Regions from separate parts of the Homo sapiens genome. Here region 1 is linked to region 2. The links are contacts of gene promoters, found by promoter capture Hi-C in blood cells and fetal thymus (Javierre and others, 2016). All regions are on one chromosome and are shown on one strand. Each heading gives the region's core, a stretch centred on a gene start or on the middle of the fragment in contact. The rest is flanking DNA. Distances are from core to core; before and after follow the strand shown.

The links. The method cuts DNA at HindIII sites, captures the fragments that hold promoters and counts their contacts. A CHiCAGO score of 5 or more calls a contact.
Region 1: a fragment that was not itself captured here is called in contact with the fragment with the promoter of QPCTL in region 2 in 1 of 17 cell types (total CD8 T cells); the score reaches 6.0 in total CD8 T cells.

The regions. Positions count from the first base shown.
Region 1 is chr19:45,035,380-45,041,417 of GRCh38, forward strand. It overlaps CLASRP (CLK4 associating serine/arginine rich protein), which reads left to right and starts at 3,666. Exons shown (of 21, transcript NM_007056.3): 1 at 3,666-3,729; 2 at 4,805-4,932. The coding sequence starts at 4,834. It overlaps RELB (RELB proto-oncogene, NF-kB subunit), which reads left to right. Exons shown (of 12, transcript NM_006509.4): 12 at 2,026-2,813. The coding sequence ends at 2,411. RefSeq lists an enhancer at 3,340-4,209. The HindIII fragment of the contact is 286 bases long and covers 4,327-4,612 here.
Region 2 is chr19:45,691,416-45,697,471 of GRCh38, forward strand. It overlaps QPCTL (glutaminyl-peptide cyclotransferase like), which reads left to right and starts at 1,251. Exons shown (of 7, transcript NM_017659.4): 1 at 1,251-1,495; 2 at 1,998-2,141; 3 at 4,022-4,303. The coding sequence starts at 1,289. It overlaps SNRPD2 (small nuclear ribonucleoprotein D2 polypeptide), which reads right to left and starts at 538. Exons shown (of 3, transcript NM_001384647.1): 1 at 472-538. The coding sequence starts at 473. RefSeq lists enhancers at 74-794, 613-742, 753-882, 1,408-1,958. The HindIII fragment of the contact is 1,670 bases long and covers 659-2,328 here.

The sequences.
Region 1 (6,038 bases), core at 3,220-5,719, 650 kb before region 2:
GTGGTGGTGCACACCTGTAGTCCCAGCTACTTGGAGGCTGAGGCAGACAAATCACTTGAACCCAGGAGGTGAAGGTTGCAGTGAGCCAAGATTGCACCACTGCACTTTAGCCTGAGCAACAGAATGAGACCCTTCTCAAAACAACAACAACAACAACAACAAAACAGGCCTGGCACTGTGGCTTACGCCTGTAATCCCAGCACTTTGGGAGGCCAAGGCAGGTAGATCACGAGGTGAAGAGAGAGAGACCATCCTGGCCAACATGGTGAAACTCCATCTCTACTAAAAACACAAAAATTAGCTGGATGTGGTGGCACATGCCTGTAGTCCCAGCTACTTGGGAGGCTGAGGCAGGAGAATCATTTGAACCCAAAAGGTGGAGGCTGCAGTGAGCCAAGATGGTGCCACTGTGTTCCAGCCTGTCAACAGAGCAAGACTCCGTCTCAAAAACAAGAAACAAAAAACAGTCCATAGGTAGGTGTTCCAGGGATGGTCTGGTGACTGCATGATCATCGAGAGACCGAGGCTTCTGCCATTTTCAGTTCGCCAACTCATGGTGCAAGGTGGCTGTTGTAGCTCCAGCCATTACGCCCACGTTCCAGTTAGCAGACCTTAGTCACATGATCACATCAGGCTGCAAGGAAGGCTAGAAAATAGTCCCTTGTGTCTCTAAGGTTTGTCTTGTTCCAAAAAGAGAGTCCCTCTTTTTTTTTGAGATAGTCTTGCCCTGTTGCCTAGGCTGGAGTGCAGTGGCACAATCTCAGCTCACTGCAATGTCCACCTCCCAGGTTCAAGTGATTCTCCTGCCTCAGCCTCCTGAGTAGCTGGGATTACAGGTGCCCACCACCATGCCCTGCTAATTTTTGTATTTTTGGGAGAGAAGGGGTTTCGCCATGTTGGCCGGGCTGGTCTTGAACTTCTGACCTCAGGTAATCTGCCCGCCTCGGCCTGCCAAAGTGCTGGGATTACAGGCGTGAGCCACCATGCCTGGCCTGAGAATCCCTCTTATAATGAAACTTTTTGATTTGATTGTTATTTTTTCTTAAGTCCCCATTATGCCTGAGAATGACATTTATTTTTTCTGACAATTTTGGGACTGGTGACTTCCCAACTTGTGTCTCCCATGGTCTGGAGATTTCACTTTTTGGGTTGTCTCTGTATGTTGGGGGGCTTTGGAACCTCTTCTCCTTTCTCACTCTCAGGGAAAACTCTCCACAGCTGTGTAGGAGCATGGTTTCAACCCCAGTTCCACAACAGCTGTGTGAGCCTTCCATTTACTTTCCCTCAGTGCCTTAGTTTACTTATTATTAATTATTTTTAGAGATAAGGTCTTGCTCTGTTGCCCAGGCTGGAGTGCAGTGGTGTGATCATACTTCGCTGCAGCCTCAAACTGGGCTCAAGCAATCCTCCTGCCTCAGACTGCCAGGTAGCTGGGACTACAGGCGGGCACCACCACACCCAGCTAACTTTTAAATAATTTTTTTGTAGAGACAGGGTCTCGTCACGTTGTGCTGGGATTACAGGTGTGAACCACCACGCTTGGCCTTCAATTTACTTATTATCTGAGAATGGTGATAGTCCCACACGGATTCTCCTTGGGATTAAGAGGGCACCTAAGGCCAGGCTTGGTGGCTCACACCTGTAATCCCAGCACTTTGGGAGGCCGAAGCAGGTGGATCACCTGAGGTCAGGAGTTCGAGACCAGCCTGGCAAACATGGTGAAACCCCGTCTCTACTAAAAAGATAAGAATTAGCTGGGCATGGCACATGCCTGGCCTGTAGTTCCAGCTACTCAGGAGACTGAGGCAGGGGAATCAACTTGAACTGGGGAGGCAGAGGTTGCAGTGAGCCAAGAGCACGTCATTGCACTCCAGCCAGGGTGACAGAATGAGACTCCATCTCAGAAAAAAAAAAAAAAAGGCCACCTTGATATCACATTTTGCAGGGAGTAGGGCATTTGATTTAGGGCCTGATCAGAAGTTAGCCCTAAATCACACTACACTTCTCTTGTCTTCATCCCCGTAGGCCCGTTCCTCCCGCCGTCAGCCCTGCTGCCAGACCCTGACTTCTTCTCTGGCACCGTGTCCCTGCCCGGCCTGGAGCCCCCTGGCGGGCCTGACCTCCTGGACGATGGCTTTGCCTACGACCCTACGGCCCCCACACTCTTCACCATGCTGGACCTGCTGCCCCCGGCACCGCCACACGCTAGCGCTGTTGTGTGCAGCGGAGGTGCCGGGGCCGTGGTTGGGGAGACCCCCGGCCCTGAACCACTGACACTGGACTCGTACCAGGCCCCGGGCCCCGGGGATGGAGGCACCGCCAGCCTTGTGGGCAGCAACATGTTCCCCAATCATTACCGCGAGGCGGCCTTTGGGGGCGGCCTCCTATCCCCGGGGCCTGAAGCCACGTAGCCCCGCGATGCCAGAGGAGGGGCACTGGGTGGGGAGGGAGGTGGAGGAGCCGTGCAATCCCAACCAGGATGTCTAGCACCCCCATCCCCTTGGCCCTTCCTCATGCTTCTGAAGTGGACATATTCAGCCTTGGCGAGAAGCTCCGTTGCACGGGTTTCCCCTTGAGCCCATTTTACAGATGAGGAAACTGAGTCCGGAGAGGAAAAGGGACATGGCTCCCGTGCACTAGCTTGTTACAGCTGCCTCTGTCCCCACATGTGGGGGCACCTTCTCCAGTAGGATTCGGAAAAGATTGTACATATGGGAGGAGGGGGCAGATTCCTGGCCCTCCCTCCCCAGACTTGAAGGTGGGGGGTAGGTTGGTTGTTCAGAGTCTTCCCAATAAAGATGAGTTTTTGAGCCTCCGGGGTTTCGTCTGTTCTGGGCTTGGGAAACGCCCTAGTCCCTTAGTAGCAAAGAAAGCCTCCAGGCTGGGGGCTCAGGCCTGTCATCCCAGCACTTTGGGAGGCCAAAGCAGGAGGATCGCTTGAGCTCACGAGTTTGAGACCAGCCTGGGCAACATGACGAAACCTAGTCTCTACAAAAAATACAAAAATTAGCCGGGCGTGGTGCTGCGCGCCTGTAATCCCAGCTACTCTAGAGGCTGAGGTGGGAGGATCGCTTGAGCCCAGGAGGTGGACGTTGCAGTGAGCCAAGACCGCACCACTGCACTCCAGCTTGGGCGACAGCGCGAGGCTGTGTCTCAAAAAAATAAAAAATGAAAATGAAAATAAAAAATGAGACCGGGCATGGTGGCTCATGGCTGTAATCCCAGCACTTTGGGAGGCCGAGGCAGGTGGATCACCTGAGGTCAGGAGTTTGAGACCAGCCTAACCAAAATGGTGAAACCCCATCTCTACTAAAAATACAAAAATTAGCCGGGCTTGGTGGCGCGCGCTTGTAGTCCCAGCTACTCGGGAGGCTGAGGTGGGAGAATAGCTGAAACCCAGGAGGCAAAGGTTGCAGTGAGCCTAGATCGCGCCACTGCCTTCTAGCCTGGGAGACAAAGAGAGACTCCGTCTCAAAAAAATAAAATTAAATAAATAAATAAAATAAAAAAGATAAAAAGATAAAGCATCCAAGCTCTTCCCTTCTCCGCTCTCCCACTTCTTCCTCGGGATCCCGCCCCTCTCGACTCTAGGACCCGCCTCTCTCGTCGGCGGAAGTGCGCTGCGCGGCCCTCCACCATGCTCCGCCCCCTCCCCCTAGCGCGGCCTTTCATTTCCGCTTCCGGTGCGGGCCGCGCGCGAGCGCAGCGGTGGGAGGCGGCGACCAGCCGGTGAGTGCAGGCTGCGGCTCGACCTCCCGGTTTTCGGGCAGGCCTCAGCCCAGCTTCTCCCTTTCCTCAGGCTCTCCCCATGCTGCTGTGGGCTTCTGCTGCGTCCCGGCCCCGAGGATCGCTCGTCCCTCACCCCATTAGGCCTGACGGGCCTCAGGCCGAGCCCGTGCCCCGGCTGTGGGCCAGAAGTTGCCGCGTCGAACTCGGCCTTCGGCCCAGCAGCTTATCACAGGCCCCGCCCCCTTGTCAAAAAAAAAAACAACAAAAAAAAAACCCAGCCCAAATCCTCAGGCCGCGACGCGATCCACAAGCCCCGTCCAAACCTTCGGTCTCCGCCCTTTCCCGCAAGCCCTGCCCCCAAGCTCAGCCCACGCCCTCCTGTCAGCCAGCTCCGCCTCTCTCAGGCTCTACGCTCTTTTTCTTTGGATGCTCTCCCCACCCCGCCATCTAGATCCCATCTTTAGACCTCAGCTTCACTCTGGTCTCCTTGCAACACTCCCTCCCCGTGTTCCCACTCCCTCTAGCATCTTCATCTTCCGCCACGCCCTTCACCTGTCCTCGACCTCCACCTTCATACAACTGCACTGTTCCCTTAAAAGCTTTCTCCGATTTCCTCCACCTGCCTTCATCCTTATTCTCCTTATCCCTCTACCACCCAGACTCATACCCAACCCCACGCATGGCCCCTAGTGGGAGCCTTTTCAGTTCTTCTCTTTCTCTTGAGCTCCAGCCTTAAGTGCTCAGGGTTTGCCTTCTGACCCTACTTCAAACACTGCTGATGTTTCAAAACCTTTCATTCCCGACTCCAGCGCGTGGAATCTAGGACACCCCTTTCCCAGTGATGCTCACCTCAGAATCACCTGAGGGTTTTTCAGAATGCCCAAGCTTCTAGATCGAAGTTGTTAGGGATGGACTTGAACATCTGGCATACTGTTCTGCAGCTTCACTTCTGCTCCCTGAAGCTAAGAGATGTGTTGTTTGGGATCGACTCTGCCACCAACTTGTTAGATGACTTTGATTCTGCCCATACGGGTTTCACAGACCATCTGACTTTCCTGGTCCCTTCATCCCTCAGGTTGAGGCCCCAGGCTTGGCCTCACCACAATGTGGCACGAGGCTCGGAAGCATGAGCGGAAGCTTCGAGGCATGATGGTCGACTACAAGAAGAGGGCGGAGCGGAGACGGGAGTATTATGAAAAGATCGTGAGTAACTGGCCTTTTGTCTGGGGTGAGGGACCCTGGGTTGGGGGGCACAGCTGGTCATCCTGGTAAAATCTGGGCTTGGAAGTATGTCAAGACAAGAGGCTCATTTCCTCAGGAGTATATTCATTAATCTTTTCTTGAGGATAATCATTGGTGGGATCCCAAGGGCTTCTGTTTGTTGTAGCATACTGTGTCGTTTGGTGTGGCCTCCCAGTGCCGATCCGGTGTTAGCAAGAAAAAGGGAAGTCTCTGTAACCCTCAGAGCAGTCCTGACGTTAGACTGGCCACCTCCAGAATGTCTGTTTCGCTTATTGCTGTGTTCCCCATTCCCAGAAGAGCTCAGCCACTCTTGAGATTTGGCTTGGCACACAATAGGAGTGAGTATTAAGTTGGCCTGGCACAGTGGCTCACGCCTGTAATCCCAAGTGGATCACCTGAGGTCACGAGTTCGAGACCAGCCTGGCCAAAAGGGTGAAACCCCATCTCTACTAAAGATACAAAAATTAGCCAGGCTTAGTGGTGTGTGCATGTAGTCCCAGCTACTTGGGAGGCTGACGCACGAGAATTGCTTGAGCCCGGGAGGAGGAGGCTGTAGTGCATGGAGATTGTGCCACTGAACTCCAGCCTGGGTGACAGAGCAAGACTCAACGCCTGTAATCCCAGCACTTTGGGAGGCCGAGGTGGACAGATCACAAGGTCAAGAGATCGAGACCGTCCTGGCTAACACGGTGAAACCCCATCTCTATTAAAATACAAAAAATTAGCCAGGTGAGGTGGCGGGTGCCTGTAGTCCCAGCTACTCGGGAGGCTGAGGCAGGAGAATGGTGTGAACCGGGGAGGGGGGCAGAGCGGAGCCTGCAGTGAGCTGAGATAGCACCATTGCACTCCAGCCTGGGCGACAGCGAGACTCTGTCTCAAAAAAAAAAAAAAAAAGACTGTCTCAAAAAAAAAGGAGTGAATATTAAGTGAAACCTGACCACTTCCCTCTCCTGTCTGATGCTTCAGTTGTTTTTGCGGGGAAGACCAAACTATCCCTGGCCTAAAAGACCCTTGTGGTCTGACCACTCAGCTTCATACTCGGACAGCTCCACTGGCCTTCTATTTCT
Region 2 (6,056 bases), core at 1-2,500:
GCCACCGCGCTCGGCCTCCCCCAGTATTCGTAAAATCGCTGCCCCTTAACATTCATTTCAATAGGACTAATTATCTAGGACCACTCCCGTTATCGTTTAAAACATGTTTTTCATAATTAAATTTTTTTTTTTTTTTGTAGAGACGGGGGTCTCGCTATGTTGCCTAGGCTAGTCTCGAACTCCTGTGTTCCAGCGATGCTCCGCCTTGGCCTACTAAAGTGCTGGGATCACAGGAATGAGCCCCCGCGCCCAGCCCAGGGCGTTATCTGATAAAGCTGTCCCCTCTCCCGAAGTCACGATGCGTCAAAGGCCCCACGCCCGTTCTCAAACTCATCAGGAGAAAAGCAGGACGCTGCATCCCTAAAACATCTGCCCCTGCCCCCCCCGCTCTGCTCAACCCTTCCCACACTCAATCGGTCAAATATCCACCCTCAACCTCATTCCCGCCGCCTAAGCCTAGCCCGGCCTCACATGATGGTCACTACGCTCTCCGTTCACTCCCGTTTCCTCCGCGTTGCTGCTGCCTGAGGAGAGAGAGGCGGGACTTCCTCTTCCTGCGACCCACTTCCGTTGGCGCCTGCGCAAAGCCAACCAGTAAGTGGAGGCGTGGCCTGTTGCCACAGCATTCCCCACCAACGGTGCACAATGATGGAATAAAAGCTTCGGGTAGGGGTTCGCGGCCAGTCAGAACCACACGGGGGCAGATGTTTATGACAATGAAGACAAAAGGAAAGGCAGTCTGATTCAAACCGTTTCTTGAAGAATGGTACAGGTTGAAGGAGGGAAATGACAAGCTATTTCCAAATGCCCGCCGGCCGTGACTTCGGGGGCGCGGCCTCCGTGAAGCCAATCCGCTCCTCGCTTCGGAGACAGGCACCGCCCCTCTTCCCTCTGGGACGCGTTACTGACGTATCTACTGATCTTTCCGACCCTGCGCCACCAATCCCCTGCCTACATCCGGAAGGGGCATGGACCTGCGCCCGGGAGATCGAATATTTTCCATGATCAAACGCTGTTCATTGGCTTTCCCTCCTCCGCTAAGGCGGAGCCTACTTCTCTTGCGCTCCCATTTGGGTCGTGCCATTCTCAGGGGAACCAACCCCAATACCTAAGGGAGGCTGGGAGGCGTGTCCTCAGGACCGTAGTTCTTATTGGTTTCGCTGCTCGCTGTGGGGTGGGCTGGTGCAGCCGCAGCTGTTGCTTATTGGCCCACCGATTCCATGGGGAGGAACTTGGCTGGGCCTAAACTCAATCCGTGGTCTGGTACAGGTTTCAGGGCAAAGCGGCCATGCGTTCCGGGGGCCGCGGGCGACCCCGCCTGCGGCTGGGGGAACGTGGCCTCATGGAGCCACTCTTGCCGCCGAAGCGCCGCCTGCTACCGCGGGTTCGGCTCTTGCCTCTGTTGCTGGCGCTGGCCGTGGGCTCGGCGTTCTACACCATTTGGAGCGGCTGGCACCGCAGGACTGAGGAGCTGCCGCTGGGCCGGGAGCTGCGGGTGAGGCTGGGCGGGGACCCGGGCACCGCGGGGACCCTCATTCCCTCCCCGCTGTTACCCAGGGTTGACGTGGCTTTAGCGTACGGCCCTAACCGCAGATGCCACCGTCTTCGTCATCTGAGCGCATGACCCTTACCAAAGGAATAAGGCTTCGGGCTGGTTCTGCAACAGTAGCTTCCTTTTAAGAGGAAAGGTCTGAAATAGTAAGACGGGGGGGTTCAGGGTTCTACGCCTTTAGTCAACTATTTGGAAGAGTCCCTTCCTCCATCTCCCCTCTCTCTCACTGGGCCTCGATTTCCCCATCAAGTTTGAGGTAGGCTGGACCGGATGGTCTTGGAAGGACTTTTCCTGAGCCTTGGATTTATCCTAGAAGTCTCCGATGCTGGAGGCGGCAGATTAGGAAGAGAACCCGGGGCTCCTCGCGGGTGACGGCGCCCGGGGTAGGGTTGAAATGGGGGGGTTGCTCTCATTCTTCCCTTCCCTATCCCACCTCCTTCCCAAGGTCCCATTGATCGGAAGCCTCCCCGAAGCCCGGCTGCGGAGGGTGGTGGGACAACTGGATCCACAGCGTCTCTGGAGCACTTATCTGCGCCCCCTGCTGGTTGTGCGAACCCCGGGCAGCCCGGGAAATCTCCAAGTCAGAAAGGTAAAGGGACCCACCTCCAGTCCCTGACCCCCTAGCCCTCCAGGGAATGGGAAATAAGAATCCTGTTCAAGATCCCAAAGAAGCTAAGAGGAGGAACTGGGGCTCTGACTGGAGTTAATCGGACTCTAGACTCCATGCTGGTAACAAACCACCAGGCTGTACTGCCCCCCTTAATGCCCCCACCAAAAGCTTACTGTGTGCTAGGCATAGGCAACAGACAGCCCTATAAGGTGGGTACCAATATGATCTTCATTATGCAGATGGGGAAACTGAGGCTCAGAGAGGTTATACACATTGCACAAATCCTACAGATAATAAGTAGTAGACCTTAGCCGGGTGCAGTGGCTCATGCCTGTAATCCCAGCACTTTGGGAAGCCAAGGTGGAAGAATCACCTGAGAAGTTTGAGACTAGCCTAGTCAACCTAGTGAGACCCAATGTTTAGAAAATCATAGACCTAGAGTTGAACCCAAACAGGTTGGCTCCGAGCTGGTGCTGTAATGTATCTGTTGTCTTCCAGAAAGCATGAAGAGTCATTTAAAGGCCAGGCGCAGTGGTTCACACCTCTAATCCCAGCACTTTGGGAGGCCGAGACAGGCAGATCCCTCGAGATCAGGAGTTTGAGACCAGCCTGGCCAACATGGTGAAACCTCATCTCTACTAAAAATACAAAATTAGCCAGGCGTGGTGGTGGGTACCCGTAGTCCCAGCTACTTGGGAGGCTGAGGCACGAGAATCACTTGAACCCAGGAGGCGGAGACTGCAGTGAGCTGAGATTGCGCCACTGCACCCCAGCATGGGTGACAGAGCGAGACTCCATCTCAAAAAAAAAAAGTCACTTAAATACTGCCTGAGTCCCAATGCTACCTCATCCACTTAGATTGTGACCTTGGACTGGTTTCTTTTTTATTTTATTTTATTTTATTTTATTTTGAGATGGAGTCTCACACTGTCGCCTGGGTTGGAGTGCAGTGGCGCGATCTCGGCTCACTGCAACCTCCACCTCCCAGGTTCAAGCAAATCTCATGCTTCAGCCTCCTGAGTAGCTGGGATTACAGGTGTGCACCACCATGCCTGGCTAATTTTTTGTATTTTTAGTGAGACGGGGTTTCACCATATTGGCCAGGCTGGTCTCAAACTCCTGACCTTATGATCCGCCCACCTCAGCCTCCCAAAGTGCTGGGATTACAGGCGTGAGCCACCGCGCCCGGCCTGGACTAGTTTCTTAACCTCTCTGAGCCCATTTCCTCATCTGTAAAATGGGGTCATGTATTGGCAGTCCCTCCCCTAAATGGTTCCTAGAAGAGGGCTTAGCACACAGTGAGAGCTATTTAAGGGTAAGCTGTGATGAGTCTTGCTGGCTTCAAGAGGTGGGGTCTCCCCAACATCTGGCACCCAGTAGGTACTCACCAGCACTGTCAAGGGAATGATTTTAATCAGAGTAGGGGGCTGGGCACAGTGGCTCACATCTGTAATCCCAACACTTTGGGATGCTGAAGCAGGCAGATCACTTGAGGTCAGGAGTTCGAATACCAGGCTGGCCAACATTGTGAAACCCCATCTCTACTAAAAATACAAAAAATAGCCAGGCGTTGTAGGGGGCGCCTGTAACCCCAGCTACTCAGGAGGCTGAGTCAGGAGAATCACTTGAAGCCAGGAGGCAGAGGTTGCAGTGAGCCAAGATCAAGCCACTGCACTCCAGCCTGGGTGACAGAGCAAGACTCCATCTCAAAAAAAAAAAGAAAGAAAGAAAGAAATCCATTCAATCAGAGTGGGGCTTTAGTGTCAACCCATCTGCTCTGCATGGCTCAGGTCACGTGGCCCTTCTCCCCACCTCCTCCCCAGTCCCCGTCCACCCTCCCACCTCTCTCTTGCCGCTAGTTCCTGGAGGCCACGCTGCGGTCCCTGACAGCAGGTTGGCACGTGGAGCTGGATCCCTTCACAGCCTCAACACCCCTGGGGCCAGTGGACTTTGGCAATGTGGTGGCCACACTGGACCCAAGGGCTGCCCGTCACCTCACCCTTGCCTGCCATTATGACTCGAAGCTCTTCCCACCCGGATCGACCCCCTTTGTAGGGGCCACGGATTCGGCTGTGCCCTGTGCCCTGCTGCTGGAGCTGGCCCAAGCACTTGACCTGGAGCTGAGCAGGGCCAAAAAACAGGTGAGGAGCAGGAGTCGGGGAGGGTAGTGGGCTACCTCCACCTTTTCCCAAGCCCCCACCCTCCCTTGCCTGGACATTTGTCATCCCTCTCGTCTTCCCACTCTACTCCACGCACAGAGCCACAGGGATCTTTTTTTTTTTTTTGAGACGGAGTTTCGCTCTTGTTCCCCAGGATGGAGTGCACATGGCGAGATCTTGGCTCCCCGCAACCTCTGCCTACTGGGTTCAAGCAATTCTCCTCCCAACCTCAGGTGATCTGCCCACCTCGGCCTCTCAAAGTGCTGGGATTACAGGCGTGAGCCACCGCGCCTGGTCATCACAGGGATCTTTTTACCTTCTAGATGTCAGATTCTCTTTCCTCTCCCCCAAACCCTCCCAGGGCTCCCGCCTCATTCCAGCCATAATCCAGAGTCCTTATATTGGCCCACGAGCTGTGCCCTGTTACCTCTCCAGCCTCATCTCCCACCCCTCACCTCTTGCTCACTCTGCTGTAGCCACCCCCACCTCCTCTGGGTTCCTCAAACCCGCAGAGCTTGCTCCCACCTCAGGGCATCTGCACTTGCTGTTTGCTTTGGATAGAATGTGCTTTTCTGGCCAGGCTCCGTGGCTCACACTTGGAATCCCAGCACTTTGGGAGGTTGAGGTGGGTGGATCACAAGGTCAGGAGTTCAAGACCAGCCTGGCCAACATGATGAAACCCCATCTCTACCAAAAACACAAAAATTAGCCAGGCTTGGTGGTGCACACCTGTAACCCCAGCTACTCGGGAGGCTGAAGCAGAGAATTGCTTGAACCCGGGAGGCGGAGGTTGCAGTGAGCCAAAGTTGCACCACTGCACTCCAGCCTGGGCAACAGAGCGAGACTCCATCTCAAAAAAAAAAAAAAATTATCTGGGAGTAGTGGCATGCTACTTGGGAGGCTGAGAGGGGAGGATGGCTTGAGTCTAGGAGTTTGAGACTGCAGTGAGCCATGATCGTGCCACTGTATTCTAGCCTGGGTGACAGAGACCTTGTCTCTTAAAAAAAAAAAAAAGAATATGCTTTTCATAGATATCTTCCTGGCTGGCTCCCACTCTTCACTCAGGTGTCCACTCCAATGTCACCCCTTCAAAGAGGCCTTCCCGGCCGGGCGTGGTAACTCGCACCTGTAATCCCAGCACTTTGGGAGGCCGAGGCAGGCAGATCATTTGAGGTCAGAAGTTCGAGCCCAGCTTGTCCAACAGGGAAACCTCATCTCTACTAAAAATACAAAAATTAGCTGGGTATGGTGGTACATACCTGTAATCCTACTACTTGGGAGGTTGAGACAGGAGGATCACTTGAAACTGAGAGGCGGAGGTTGCAGTGAGCCGAGATCGCACCACTGCACTCCAGCCTGGATGACAGAGCGAGATTCTGTCTCAAAACAAACAGAAAAGAAAAACACAGGCCAGGTGCGGTGGCTCACACCTGTAATCCCAGCACTTTGGGAGGCCAAGGCAGGTGGATCGTGAGGTCAGGAGATTGAGACCATCCTGGCTAACACAGTGAAACCCCGTCTCTACTAAAAATACAAAAAGTTAGCTGGGCGTGGTGGCGGGCGCCTGTAGTCCCAGCTACTTGGGAGGCTGAGGCAGGAGAATGGCGTGAACTCGGGAGGCAGAGTTTGCAGTGAGCCGAGATCGCGCCACTGTACGCCAGCCTGGGCGATACAGCGAGACTCCGTCTCAAAAAAAAAAAAAAGAAAGAAAAAAAAGAAAAGAAAAGAAAAACAC